3 separate regions of the Homo sapiens genome follow, and all the other regions are linked to region 1. Evidence: promoter capture Hi-C in human tissues and cell types (Jung and others, 2019). All regions are on one chromosome and are shown on one strand. Each heading gives the region's core, a stretch centred on a gene start or on the middle of the fragment in contact. The rest is flanking DNA. Distances are from core to core; before and after follow the strand shown.

The links. Contacts are between HindIII fragments. The study calls those that stand out against the background at their distance.
Region 2: a contact is called between a fragment that was not itself captured here and the fragment with the promoter of ADCYAP1R1 in region 1, in 1 of the 25 tissues and cell types used here (dorsolateral prefrontal cortex).
Region 3: a fragment that was not itself captured here is called in contact with the fragment with the promoter of ADCYAP1R1 in region 1 in 2 of the 25 tissues and cell types used here (bladder and thymus).

The regions. Positions count from the first base shown.
Region 1 is chr7:31,050,642-31,053,725 of GRCh38, forward strand. It overlaps ADCYAP1R1 (ADCYAP receptor type I), which reads left to right and starts at 1,667. Exons shown (of 16, transcript NM_001118.5): 1 at 1,667-2,037. The HindIII fragment of the contact is 8,235 bases long and covers 1-3,084 here.
Region 2 is chr7:32,327,262-32,330,345 of GRCh38, forward strand. It overlaps a transcript of PDE1C not described here. Among named protein-coding and RNA genes, the nearest start is that of LSM5, 160 kb to the right of the region's middle. The HindIII fragment of the contact is 3,318 bases long and covers 1-3,084 here.
Region 3 is chr7:32,207,813-32,210,896 of GRCh38, forward strand. It overlaps a transcript of PDE1C not described here. Among named protein-coding and RNA genes, the nearest start is that of PDE1C, 140 kb to the left of the region's middle. The HindIII fragment of the contact is 5,205 bases long and covers 1-3,084 here.

The DNA.
Region 1 (3,084 bases), core at 417-2,916:
TCCTTTCCCTCACACTTAGTTTCACAGTTTATAGAGAGTTTTTATACACATCATCTCATTTGATCTTCACAACACCAGAGTTGGAGGCAGATGAAGAAAGCGGCTCTCAGCTCTCAGGGGTTAGGGCAACAAGCTAAGAAGGGGTTAGCCAGGATTAAAGGGAGGTCCTGTCTGTGTCTGATTTTAGCACAGCACCTGGCCCTTTTCTCTCCATTATTTCTTCTCTCCTTTCTCTTCATTCTTTCTTGATATAGATAAGACTGATATTCTCCTCCACCAGGAAGCTCTCCTGGACTGAAAGGAACATGAACCAATCAGACTACCAGTGTGTTGTGTCAATGGGGGTCAGCGGTCATTGGTCAGTAAAGAGAAACATGGACCTAGGAACCTCCACGCGTCTTTCTGGGCCCTCAGATTGCTTCTTTCAAGTTTCCATATGGATTCCTCTCCATCCACAGGTCCTTTCCTCTTTGGTAGACTGGCGACCCCAAAGGAAGGCTCAAGGCTCTCCCTCCTCCTTCCCCCTTCTTGAGGCCTCCTGGACAAGGTGGCCATACCTAGAACTTGGACCCAAAGGGAAGCTGAGCGAGAATTTACTTGAATGGGCAAGAACAGAGCCTGGCTGCAGAACTGAGAGCTCTCAGAGACTGACGCCTGAGGCAGGGACCAAAAACCGAGAGCAGAGGCAGGCAGGAGCAGCTGTGGGATGGGGGCTGGGTGGGGTGGGCAGAGGGTGAGAACTTGCCTGGGAGTGGGTAACTAACTACTCTCAGTTAAGTTTGGGCTTCGCTGCCAACCCGCTAGGCCACCTTTACCTGTGTAGTTCTCCTTATTAAGCCATTTGCACTAGGAGGAGGTTGGACAGGACTGTAATAACAGTAGCAATAGTAATTTATTCAGCATCGGCGAATCAATGATACCAGGGAGAAACTACTATGGGGTGAGTGTACCATTTTTATTTAATGCTGCTGTGAAGAGACCTGGGGGCCGGTACTATTGTTCCCTTGTGCAGATGAAGAAGCTGAAGCTCAGAGAGGCTGAGCCACTTACCCAAGCTCACAGAGCTGTGGCACAGCAGGGACTGGAGCCAGGCAGTCTGATATTTTAAGTTGCCTCTGTCCTGTAAGCACCACCATCCCCTTCCTGGTCTTTCTCCGGGGGCGGGGGGGTCACATTGGAGGACATCCCGACAGGCACCCCAAAACTAGCTGACCCTCCCAGGCCTGGGCGGTAGGGGCAAAGAAGAGCCCAAGGAGGGTCTGAGACTTGCCTGGTAAGGAAGGCTTCTTGGAGGAGAGGGAAGACAGGCTCTGATACACAGGAAATCTTGAGGACCTAGGGAGAAGAAAGAAGGCTTTCTAGTCCTGGCTATGATGGAGAGACTGGAAAGAGGGTGGTGAGCCCAGGAGGCCCAGAGTCAGAGGAGACGGGGATGACAGGGGGCTGAGGGCTCCACCTCAGCGCCCCCGACCCCCGCCGCTGGGATTTCCCGCCGCAGCTCCTGCTCCAGTCTGTGCTGCGGGTGGGGTCGGGTTGAGCAGCCCGGCGCCCCCCACCGCGCCCCCCACCGCACCGCCCTCGATCTAACCCCGCCCCCGGGCGCTCATTGGCCTGCAGCACCCCCTCCCCAGCCTGTGAAGTGAGCAGGGGGAGGCGGTGGTCGGTCGCCTCCCTCCAGCGCCCAGCCTGGCTTCGCGGCGGAGGCGGCGCCTCTCCCGCAGGACGGAGCCAAGCTGGACTGCCGCGCCGCGCGGGGCGGGCAAAGGGGGCGCTGCGCTCGGCCCCGGGCAGGGAGTGACGGCGGCGGCGGCGGCTCCGGGCGAGCGTGGTCCCCGCGTGCGCACACGCACACGCCGCCGCGCAGGGACACACGGACCCCGGCCGCCAGCCGGCCACACAGGCGCGGAGACCCGGCTCGGCGCGCGCTCCTCGGCGCACACGCTCCCCATCCCCGCGCCGCGCGGGCCGCGGACTTGCAGGCTGCGCGTCCTTTGCGGAGTCTGCCCCGGCCCCACGGACAGGCCCCGCAGTGAGCAGGTAAGGGTCGCCCCGCCGCGGCTGCCCCTCCACGCCTCGGCCGTCTTCTCCCCCTCCAGAACCTTCGCCCAGCCGGGACCTCGGATCCCCTCCTCTGGCTTGGCGGTCTCCGCCAGCCGCGACCTCCACCGACGGAGAGCGGGCGAGGGCCGGCGCCAGGCAAGCCTCCCAGATCTGAAATGAAGCCCCCTCCCGCCGCTGCGCCCTTCCTGCGCGTCAGGCTGACACCCCCCAACCCAAGTGTCTGGCGCTGCGCTCGGGGCGGCCGATCGCCGCAGACTGCCGGGGTGGGGGTCGACCTAGCTATCTCACGCCCCTCCTGATGCGGAGAAGGGAGACCAGGGGGGCAGGCAAGCCATGCGGCCGGAGGGACCCGGAGGGACATGCCTCCCTACCCTTAGGTGGACGGACGCACCTACGCGGATCGGGAAGGCAGGGCTGGAGGGTCCCCCGGGGCTAGGTACCGCAATCCGCACGGGGTTTGAGGGGTGGGCAAGCAATGTGCTAGGTGGGGGTTGGGGTAGGGGCCAGTGTAGAATGCCCCTCTGTGGTGACACATCCGGGATTGTTCAAAAGAGTGTCGTCTTCGTTTCCCGTGGCGCGGAGGGGCTGGGGTTGGGGATGCCAGGGCTTCAGTGGTCCCCAGAAGAAACGCCCTGCGGGGTCTGTGGGGAAACGCACCGGCCTTCCCAGGTTGAAGTGGGCCCGCTGAGACCCCTGCCTGCCGCTTTAGAGGCAGAAGCTCCTGCGGCGGCTGCGGGGGGCGGAGGCCACATCCTCGGCGGGACCTTGGCAGGTTAGGGGGCTCAGAAGGGACAGGGGAGCCGATGGATGCAACTAGACCCTCAGGAGGGAACCCAGCCGGAAGCCGATTGCATTTCACGTGGAGCTGAGGAGGGGAGCCTCACCCCTGGATGGAGCTCAGCCCCTTTTTGGAAGATGGGGGTGGGGTGGTGGACACCTGCTAATTCTTCCGACCATTTTTATGTTTTTGAGTGCAGGTGCGTCAGACTCCCTTTATCTTCCCCAGCCTTACAATGTCCCGCA
Region 2 (3,084 bases), core at 358-2,857, 1.3 Mb after region 1:
ATAACATGTGCATAGAGAAAAGTCCCCAAATCGTAAGTATACAACTTGATCCATTTTCATAGACTGAACACACCCAGATTAAATGTAACCATCACGTGGATCAGGAAGTAGGACATTACCAGCATCCCAGGAGCCCTCTCATGCCGCCTCCCAGACACTCACTGCCATCCCAAAGGTAACATTATCTGGGTTTCTATCACCATGGATTCATTTTCTCTATTTCAAAATTATATAAAAAGAATCACATATGTAATCCCAGCACTTTGGGAGGCCGAAGTGGGTGGATCACGAGATCAGGAGATCAAGACCATCCTGGCCAACATGGTGAAACCTTGTCTCTACTAAAAATACAAAAATTAGCCGGGCATGGTGGCGGCGCATGCCTGTAGTCCCAGCTACTCAGGAGGCTGAGGCAGGAGAATTGCTTGACCCCAGGAGGCGGAGGCTGCAGTGAACCAAGATCACGTCACTGCACTCCAGCCTGGGCAACAGCGCTAGACTCTGTCTCAAAAAAAAAAAAAAAAAAAAAGAGAATCATGTAGTGTGGCTTCTTTTGTGTCTGGCTTCTTTCACTCAAAATTCTGTTTCTGAGATTCATCCATGTTGTTTGCACATAGACATAGTTCCGTTTTTCTCTGCTGAATTGTGCTTCTTCAGATGAACATACCACCTTTTATTTATCCATTGTACTGCTAATATTTAGATCATTTCCAGTTTGAAGGTGTTATGAATAGGCTGCTATAAACATTTTCCTTCACATCTCTTGGTGCACATATGTAGGCATTTCTTTTGAGCATATATTCAGGAGAGGAATTTCTGGTTCAAAAGTGATGTATATATTTATCTTTAGTAGATCCTACCAAACAGTTTTCCAAAATGGTTAAATCATTTGCCACTCTCATCACAGTATAGAGTAGTTCTATTGTTCACATCCTTGCCAAGGCTTGATTTTGTGCCCTTTTTTGTTTTTGCCATTCTAGTGGTGTACAAAGCTGTCTCACTAAGGTTCTAGTTAAATAGCCTTTCAGTCTCCCTGCTTCCACTTTTGCCTCCCTCCAATCCATTCTCCAAATAAAAACCAGAGAAATATTATCAAACACAAGTAAGAGTACACTATTTCCCTTCTTAAAACATTGTGATGGCTCCCAGCTACAGTCAGAATAAACCCAAACTCAGAAGCACAGCCTCCAAGTCCCTGCATGATCTGCCTGCTGCAGACCTGCCTGGCCAACTTCACCTTACCAACCACGCTCCATGTTCACTGTGCTCCAGACACACTGCCTCCTTCCTCTTCCTTGAACAAGCCAGGCTCTCTTCCACTTCAGGATCTTTGTATGTGTTGTTCTCTCTGCCTGGAACACAACCCCATCCTCCACCCCCCATCCCCACTCCACCCCTTGCTTGCCTAACTACTATTCTTCCTTCAGGTCTCAACTTACAAGTCACATCCTCAGGTGAGAACTCCTAACTGGCCTCCATTATCAACAGTGAATCTCCTCTGCAACGCTTACACAATCTCCACATAGCTTGTTTCTTTATTCGCTTGTTCATGTCCTATTTTCCCTATTAGATTGTGTGGTCCACAAGGGCAAGGACATGGCCTTCTTGGTCACTACTGCATGTCCAGTACCTGGCACTAGGAGATCAATAAATTTTTGTCAAATGATTGACTTAATAAATAGTATTGCTGGCCAGGCGTGACAGCTCACACCTGTAATCCAGCACTTTGGGAGGCCAAGGCAGGAGCATCACTTAAGCTCAGGAGTTTGAGACCAGCCTGGGCAACACGGCAAAACCTTATCTCTAGAAAAAATGAAAAAATTAGTCAGGTGTGGTGGCATACATGTGTAGTCCCAGCTACCCAGGAGGCTAAGGTGGGAGGACAGCTTGAGCCCAGGAAGTCAAGGCTGCAGTAAGCTGTGATCATGCCACTGGGTGACAGAGTGAGACCTTGTCTCAAATAAATAAATAAAAAGTAAATAGTATCTCTCTCGGGGAGACCTAAGTTAAGCAGCTCTTTCACACTGAGGAAAATTGATAAAGCAAAATGCTCTGAGATGCTCAGAGGAGAGGCCTCATTTATACATCAACGTAGCCATTGTTTACTGGGCACCTATTATGGAGGCGATAGACCCTGTGTACTCTTCAACAGAGACCACCTCGGAGCTCCCTCTCAATTGCCGATGAGCTTTTAATCCAGTGCAGGTGACCTTGAGGTGCCTCAGACTCCTGCTCCCTGCTTTGGGCCACTTTATGTAGGTTTACCTTTTCCACAGAGGTATGGCAGCACTTCCATTCATTTGTCCAGTTTTCTAGTTCAGAAAGTTTGCGGGAGTATTTTTCCTGATAATAATGCTAACAAGTTATCACTTAAATTTTTTGAAAAATTAATAAGAGAAAAATAATGGTCATCTATACTTCTACTACCCAGGAAAAATGAGCATATCCTCTTCAAGGCTTTGTTATTTCTTTTTCCCTTTATTTTTAGTGTTGGTCAAAGGGCTCAGGAGAGGACTTGGTTGAAACTAGTGTATACAGAAGGGAATGTGGGGTTTTCTAATTATTCAAGCTTGCATTGTCCTTTATGCCGAAAACCGGTGGAAAGGAACTCGAGATGGATTACTAACAGCTTCAGGCTTGGAGCCTGTTTCCAGCACTTTGCTCAAATCATTGTCCACATGTTGCCTTTGTCTCCCCATCAGGGATGCCAAGGAGCCTGGCAATATTACAGCAACTCAGCAGACGTTGCCCTGAAATCAAGATTGAATATAGCATCTCCCAGATCAACCAAATAGATTCAGAACACATATCTTTGGCCCACCTTTCCCAAAATGGAGATTTTGTTTGGATAAAGAGCCATCACATATGGCACCCCCAGTCTGTCCTAAGCACAGTGCTGGACACTTCATATATCTTTAATCCTCACAATGACTCTAGATGTAGGCATTGTCTCCATTTGCAGTTGAGGCTCTGCAAGGTGAGTGAACTGTTCAAGGTCTCAGTAAGTGGCTGATTCAAGCTTGCACTCAGCCCTCTCTGGCTCCACGGCCTTGCTCAGCTATGCTGGTAAGTTTTGCCTTGGCT
Region 3 (3,084 bases), core at 225-2,724, 1.2 Mb after region 1:
TTGCCTCAACTCTCATGCAAGGACCGCCCTCCCCCCAACCTTCGTCTGTCTTGTAGTGAGCCTCTGGGACTCCCATGGGGGAAGGGGCACCCAGCACAGCCCTCACAGCGTGGTTGGGTCACGATTCATGCTTATTTATTTGCCTGACAACTGCTCAGGAGATGAAGAAAAAAATGGGATAAAAGCATATTCTTCAACCTCGTTGAGCTGTGGGATGAAATATCTATTTTGCAAATAATGATTCCAGGTAGGAGGGCAGTGAGGAATGGGGCTCATGAGAAGCGAGTGTTTTATTACACAATTTCTAAAATATGAGCACTTCATGCTCTTTCATTATCGTACATTATTACAGTTCTATAAAAATCATTTCTAGGAAATCAATCCCAACGTTTCAAAGCCTTCCAAAAAGAGCTGGGAGGCAGAGTTTAGAAGAAGCCTGTAAATAGAGAAATTATACTTTCAGCTTTATGTAATAAGATTTACTATGGCACTGTCCACACTCAGACCTAGTCAACCCTGCATGAGGAATGCAGTGACTAGGGATTTATAGAGTTCCTCCCTGGCCACAATTTCAAAAGACAGCAACATTTTTGACTGACCTGGAAAAAAGTCAGATGGCACGTCAGCTACTAAGTCTTTTTGTAGTCAATACTAGAGAGGGAACGATGAGGTGACTTTTAGGAAGGCAAAAAAAAAAAAATTAATGTAACAATGTCCAATTTTGAACATTTTCCAGGTGCGAAGACAGAGGCCCAGATAGTGTGAGTGAAATTACTTTTAGTGAAAGCCAGTGAGGCAGTGATAAATCCGTTTCTATTTACAGTTGTACGATTTCTCCACCTGGTGCATAGTGGGTTTGGGGAGCGTCTCCACTCCACCCTCATCCGTCTCTAGTATTTTCCCCCCCCTTCTTTGGAATCCAGGTTTTCGTTCCAGGAAGTGCATTAACTTGCGGGATAATTTGCTGATCACACTGGTACAGAAACCATTGAGAGGCTTTAGACTCCTACTCATAGGGATCAAGACCTGGAGACAAAGGAGTCAAGGGAAGCCCCATGGCCTAACCACAGCCCTAGGAATATCCCCAATGCCTAAGGAAACCCATTCAATCCATCTAAGCTTCAAAGTGTCACCAAACTGAGGAAAAGCCAGTGGAGTTAGTCCATAAGTCCACTTTGAATGGTGATGATGCCTTCATAGCTACAAGCATTTCACGTACCTCTCCTCACTTTATCTTCATAAAACATTCATTGAAAGATTGAAAGGATAGTCCTAGCACAGCACTTCTCAAACTCTAATGTGAACAGGCATCCCCTGTAAATGTGTTAAAATACAAATTCTGACTCAATAGGTCTGAAGGGGTGGTCGGGGGACTGAGGCTTCATGGTTCTAAAAAGCCCCCAGGTGATGTCGATTCTGCTGCTCTGAGGACCATACTTGGAATAGCAAAGGCTTAGAGCACAATTTGGAAACCACAGTTCTAAGGATTGAAAAGGCAGTAGCAATGAGTAGCTCACCAGCCTGGGCTCAAGTGGGATGTTAACCAGATGATATTTCCTGCATTACTATTTTATTAACACCTGACAGAATTGAAGAGCTATACCGCATGGGGGAAAGATCTCTGGAGAACATTTTCTGATGGAGACCAGGAAAGGAGTGAAACAAGATTTACTCACGAGAGAAGCGGGCCAGTGGTCTGGCATTCTTGTCTCCAGCTTCATTTGCAACTAGAAAAAAAAAAGAGGATGCAATTTAAATAAATAAAGCAATGTGTCCACCAAATATGCCCCAATACAGCCAATCCCCTGGATGCTTTGACATCGGGCTGTATTTAAGAGTCTTTGTAAGTGAATAAAAGCAACTTTACTCCCTCCGTGTCTGTATTTCCAAGGCTGCCCTCAACACCTAAATGAAGTCAAATGTCTCAATCATTTTGATTAGAATATTTGGATGAAGCTAGAGAGGATCTCAACAACATCCAGTTTAGTAGGCCTAAAGAAGTTAATTGGCTTACATCCACTTAGTAAGAGGCACACACACCAGCTTCCAAGCTAGTGGACGTCCTTTGGCCCCAAGAGTCCTCTAACAGTGCTGTCTGTCAACATGCAAATGCACCCCAAGCATCGAAATGAATCTGGTTTCCTAGGATCCATAGGGGCAAAGCTGAGGCAGGAATTTCGGAAGATAAATAAAAAGCTGGCTTTATGTTCAGAAAGATATTAAATTTAGATGCTAACAAACAGGGAAGTTCATTAATAGAATTGTTCAGAAAACTGCCCTAGAAACCTTACCCCTAAAGCTTCTCAGCAGGGCAGGCTACCTCCTACGAAAAGTCTCCATATAACTTATCATTGGATAGAGTCATATTTAATGTCCCTTATAACTTATGAACCCATTGTATTGGGTAAAAGAGATTGGTTGTTAAGGGGAAACACAGGTTTCACTCATTTTAAATACCATGTTTCATGCCCATAAACATTATACCTTGGTTGTTGTATGTATACATAGCAGACAGACATGGGTATTTGTGATCTACTTGGATAAATGCCTAAAGCAATCAACAAGAAACACCTGTTCATTCTAGCTGAGAAAAAAGCATTCAATGCATCAACAGAATAAAGGAGATTGCTAACGTCATCATGAATGTATGAGAAGTTGCAGCAAAAGGACAAAACCAATACAGTAACTACTTTCTAAACTTATTATATCGTTTTACAAAGAATGAAAGAAGTCGAAAAATTTATTCCACCCTCTCACAAAGGTAAGTATTTTAAAATTTACTGCATTTGAGCAATTTTTTAAAAATTAATGGATTCCATCTCAGTATATTTTGTTTTTCTGGCATTAGCTTTGCCTCACCATCTACACTCTATTACTAATAAGGCCAATTACTAATTTGGGCAATTTGTCTATTACTAATTTGGGCAATTTTTAAAAATTAATAAATTACATCTTAGTATCTTTTGTTTTTCTGGGTATTAGCTTTGCTTTATCATCTGCACTCTTACTATATATTACTATATATAAGATGTTATATAAAAATGACCAGCAGGGGGAGGCAATAATTCATCCAGCTCCCATCGT